Linked DNA regions of Homo sapiens: region 1 is linked to region 2. Evidence: promoter capture Hi-C in human tissues and cell types (Jung and others, 2019). All regions are on one chromosome and are shown on one strand. The core of a region is centred on a gene start or on the middle of the fragment in contact, and the rest is flanking DNA. Distances in the headings are between cores, read along the strand shown. Region 1 overlaps SOX5 (SRY-box transcription factor 5). Region 2 holds the start of SOX5 (SRY-box transcription factor 5).

Region 1 (2,700 bases), core at 94-2,593, 92 kb before region 2:
GAAATTCCCTGAAAAATGTTATTGCTATTTAACATATGATGAAATTAAAGTTCTAAAAGTAGTTTACCCAAAATAATAGTAGGAAATGGTAAATTGGAGAATTAAACCTAAGATTCAATTCTAAACTCCTTGCTGTGGTCATCATTAAGCTTCCTCAACTGATTCAGGTGCTGCAAGATATGCCAAAGGTATAAGAAAATAAAGCTGGTTTTCTCTCTCTTCAAAGAGTTTAAAATTAAATTTGAGAGGCACTGAAATGCACCTGAAATAATTAGTAATCATAACAACTATAATAAGTACTAATTTTTAGAGTAGCAAATTATACATGCAAGAGAAGTTTAGAGAAGAGAGAATGCTAGAAATCAAAGAAAAATGGAAAACTTCTTATCATAGTACTAATCACACTCTTTTAGGATTGTTCATTTAATTTTCTTTCTATACCATGAAGACAGGGAACATGTCTGATTATTCACACACACACTATGCCTTGTTATTAATGTTCCATAAATTCATATTGAGTTAATTATTAATTTATTAAATCTTCATGTATAGAGAGTCATTTAGTTTAAGCCTAGAAGAAATAAGTGAAGAGGAAAAGATACAGAGCATTCCCAGAGGCACCACCCAGGAAATTTTACAGTGCATATACACACACACTACAATGAAGGAAGTGGCTTAACCAAAAGAAATGAAGAATAATAAATAGAAGACTAATATAGGAGAGTCATTTCATGAAGGGTCATGAAAGTCAAGTAGGGTAGTTTACATTTGACCTAGCAGGCAATGGAGAACTATTGTTGATCTACAGTGAGTGATTCTATTAAAGTAGCTTGTTAGGAAGATTAGTCTAGCAGTGGTATGTAGAATTAATTGGGTAGAGGAGAAAGTAAAGATCTCCACTGAATAGGAAACTGTTACCATGACACATATGTGACAATAAAAGGCCTTCCACTAGATTGTAGCAGTGGGAGTTGAAAAGAACCATCAAATCTATCTGTCATCTGTGATTATCAACTGTTTTGGAAAATAGGTTACACTCAGAAAGGAGCTTTTCCAAACCTTATATATTCAGATTATTTTTGTTCACATTCCAGAGTACATTGCCCTTCCCTCTTCATCCATAGCCTGGTGATAGTTACTTCTATAGGGACAATGACAGGAATGTGTAAGGCATATGGAAAAAGGCTAATAGCCACTTTTAGATGGTTAGATACTCTATACACAATGTGTGATAATCGATGACAGTGTACTTAGGAAGTTTTTTCTTTCTTTTTTTTTTTTTTTGAGGTGGAGTCTTGCTCTGTAGCCCAGGCTGGAGTGCAGTGGCACGATCTTGGCTCACTGCAACCTCCCCCTCCCAGGTTCAAGCGATTCTCCTGCCTCAGCCTCCTGAGTAGGTGGGATTACAGGTGCCTGCCACCACACTTGGCTAATTTTTTGTATTTTTAGTAGAGACGGGGTTTCGCCATATTGGCCAGGCTGGTCTTGAACTCCTGACCTCAGGTGATCTGCCTGCCTCGGCCTCCCAAAGTGCTGGGATTACAGGCATGAGCCACCATTCCCGGCCAAGAGTTTTTTTTATTTGTAATTTAATATGCCTGTATGTGTGTGTGTGTGTGTGTGTATATGCAAGGCAGGTACATATATGTGCACTTTGTTGTTTTTTTGTTTGTTTTTTTACAATGTATGTTACTTTCCTATGAGAAGCGCTAAAAAATAATAATAATAAATCACTAATTAAACTTAAGAGCCTCTGCACAGCAAAAGAAACTATCAACACAGTAAAAAGACAACCTACAGAATGGGAGAAAATATTTGCAAACTATGCATCTCACAAAGGTCTAAAATCCAGCATCTATAAGGAACTAAAATTAACAAGAGAGAAACAAACAGCCCTATTTAAAATTGGGCAAGGGACATGAACAAACACTTCTCAAAAGAAGACGCACATGCACCCAACAAGCATATGAAAAAAAGCTCAATATTATTGATCACTAGAGAAATTCAAATAAAAACCACAGCGAGATACCATCTCACACCAGTCAGAATGGCTATTATTAAAAAGTCAGAAAGTAACAACAGGTGCTGGTGAGGTTGCAGAGAAGAGGGAACCCTTATACACTGTTGGTGGGAGTGTAAATTAGTTCAACCATTGTGGTAAGTAGTATGGTGACTCCTCAAAGAACTAAAGCCAGAACTACCATTTGACTCAGCAATCCTATTACTGAGTATATACCCAGAGGAATATAAGGCATTCTACAGAAACCTGCATGTGAATGTTCATTGCAGCACTGTTTACTGTTGCAGAAAGTCAGGGACCCTGAACGGAGGGACCAGCTGAAGCCATGGCAGAAGAACATAAACTGTGAAGATTTCATGGACATTTATTAGTTCCCCAAACTAATACTTTTATAATTTCTTATGCCTGTCTTTACTGCAATCTCTGAACATAAATTATGAAGATTTCATTGACATTTATCACTTCCCTAATCAATACTCTTATAATTTCCTGCACCTGTCTTTAATCTCTTAATCCCATCATCTTCATTAGCTGAGGATGTATGTCACTTCAGGACCCTGTGATGATTGCGTTAACTGTACAAATTGTAAAACATGTGTGTTTGAACAATATGAAATCAGGGCACCCTGAAAAAGAACAGAATAACAGCGATTTTCAGGGAACAAGGAAAGATAACCATA
Region 2 (2,700 bases), core at 46-2,545:
TTGCTTCACTTCTAGAATGTTTTAATCTTTGTCCTTTCTTTTTTCGTCTTTTCATATCAAATTCAGTCGTTTGAGCGATGAACAGCTTGACTTAGCATATTTTTAACCAGCTGGTCTAGCACCTAGCTTGCATTGCATAGTCAGATACAACAAATGTTTATACAGAAGGTAGCTTTCATGAAAATGAAAAAAAGCCTGGGTATCATGCATCCTGGCTTTTTTTAGCTTTTTTTTTTTTAATTCACCATACAGAATACAAAGTTTGAATTCTTTTTAATGGCAAACAAAATTCTATTTATAGTTCAAAAAAATGAACTTATGCTGGGATAAGAACTCAAATTTAAAAATTGCAATGTGTACTTATAGGAACATTAAGAGGGCTAAAATTCTTTCAAAGCCCTGCTTTACTTGCAACAACATCAAATAAAAGGATGCTGCAGATATTTCTCTAAATAGGAACAACTTAATTACAAATACACTATTCCCATCATAGCAAAAGGGGAAAATACAGTAAATTAAAATTCAGTCAAGACAGCTAACACAAAAAGTGGCCACTAAAACTTAGAAAGGGAACAGCTCCATTTATCCCCTTTTCGCCCCTATTTTTGACACTTAGGGAGTAATCTAATATAGCGATGATGTTAAATTTTCTTTGGGGGGAAAAAACGCTCTCTTATATCAACAAAAGGTCATGTGCTTTACTGAGCAGCTTCCAAAGTTTTACGGAAGGATCAAATAGGAACTTATAGCCTCCGTTTAAAGCACCACTAAAACCTTCTGTCACCCTAGAAATTACATGAGACAGAGATGCTGAAAATGGTAACATTCTGCACAAAAGCGTTTTTAAAAGGTGGGGAGAAAACAATCAATGAAGGAAGAAAGTAAGAGAGTGAATGAGAAAGACAGAAGCAGCGAGTTGGGGAGAGAGAGAGAGATGCTTAAGGTTCATTTAATTTGCTGTTATAGGACGCAACCTAAAAACATTAGCAGAAATCTCGGAGACTTTGCAAATCAGTTCAGTTTGGTCCGGGCAATCACAACAAAAAATCAGCTAACAAGATTGCAGAAGCCCTAGCTAAAGGCTTCTCTAACAAACACGTTTTGGGGGAGCATCTTCCAATGATTCAGAGACTACTGTAAAATGGGAGAGTTGTACTTCAATATATTAGGGGGAAAAAACTGTACTCACCTTTCAAACTCCTGAGGTAAATCAGGGTCAGTAAGCATGCTGGAAAAGCACAATTTCCCTTTGTCACAGCAGCCACCTATGATCGTCTCCAACTGAACCTGTCAAGTGAGTCCAAACCTTCTAAACCAATTGATTTTCTCTCTGTCTCTTCCCCCCCTCCCTCCCTCCCTCTCTCTCTCTCTCTCTCTCCCTCTCTCTCTCTGTCTCTCTCTCTCTCTCTCTCTCTCTCTTTCTCCCCCCCTCCTTCCCCTCCTCTCTCTCCTAGGACTCCTTGACCAGTCTCTTAAAGGGGTAGTGCACTTCCAGCAGCGGAGTCTGGCTGCTCCCCCCTCCGCGGAGCCACACGCTCCGGCTGCAAGGCTCTAGACAACCTCAGGGTGCCTGTCCTTTCCTTTTAATTCTCTCTTCTAGACATCACTGAATGTGAGAAGTCAACTCATTTAACACGTCTCCCATACTCTGTCTTCTAAATCATAAAACTCACACACACACATACACACGCAGAACAGTATGATTTTGTAAAACGTATTTGCTGCTGATTAAAAACCTAGTCTATATAATAACAGAAGCTCGATTAAACTGCATTTATTAACTAATTAAGCAAAAAATTTAATGTTAGTAATAGCATTTTTACACAAAGAATTGTTATTCCTTCTCACCCTTTTCTAGGCTCTCTCCGTTCACACACGGAAATACACGCACACACACACACACACACTCACACACACACAACAATCAGGCATTGTTCTGAGGGAAGAAAAGCAACTTTGACAGATTGAAATATAGCAGAGGCCCCTTCAAGGAAACCTGTAAACAACTTGTCACTCACTCTGTCGGTCTCACTGTTAGCTCGTGCTTTCCGCAAAGTGGTGCGAACGTCCTGGCAACCCGACCAAAGTTTCCTCAGCTCTAAACTCCATAAAACACGATGTGCGATGTGGAGGGGAATAGGTATCCACATGCCAAAATAACATACACGAGCGAACAAAAACCCAAAACGAAATCAAAACATAAAAACAAAAAGACGGTACTAACAAACTGTCCTGTTTGGGATCGCTGGGGAGGTCAGGAGTAGGAAGCGCCCCCCTGGCTGTGGATCTCTTTAATTTCCTCTGCCCAGGCAGCCACAGATAACAAGGTGGACAAACTATGGCTTTACAGATTCTAAGCTGGCTGGCAAGGCACAGCCTCCATAGCAGTTCCAATTATCTAGATAAAAATCTGGCAGCCGAGAAAGGTAATCAGGTAATGTACCTTTGACACGAAATGACAGAGGCACATACACACAGAGAGAGAGACACTTACACAGACATGCATGCAGAGATGGTGGCTGCCCCGTGCACCGCAGCATCTGGTCAGGGAGTAAGCACACACTTACCAACAGGAGATAGTGTGCATTCTTCACACACGCATGCACACACACACACACACACACACACACTCACTCACGCACGCTCTCCACTCCTACTGGGAGGGTTCATTCTGCACAAAAGGCTACATTACAGAGCCCG

Evidence for each region. The method cuts DNA at HindIII sites, captures the fragments that hold promoters and counts their contacts. A contact is called where the count stands out against the background at its distance.
Region 1: a contact is called between a fragment that was not itself captured here and the fragment with the promoter of SOX5 in region 2, in 2 of the 25 tissues and cell types used here (dorsolateral prefrontal cortex and mesenchymal stem cells).

What each region holds. Positions count from the first base shown.
Region 1 is chr12:23,856,467-23,859,166 of GRCh38, forward strand. All of the region lies in intron 2 of SOX5 (SRY-box transcription factor 5), which reads right to left. Among named protein-coding and RNA genes, the nearest start is that of SOX5, 92 kb to the right of the region's middle. The HindIII fragment of the contact is 4,066 bases long and covers 1-2,700 here.
Region 2 is chr12:23,948,375-23,951,074 of GRCh38, forward strand. SOX5 (SRY-box transcription factor 5) reads right to left here and starts at 1,296. Exons shown (of 15, transcript NM_006940.6): 1 at 1,190-1,296. The coding sequence starts at 1,227. The HindIII fragment of the contact is 5,378 bases long and covers 1-2,700 here.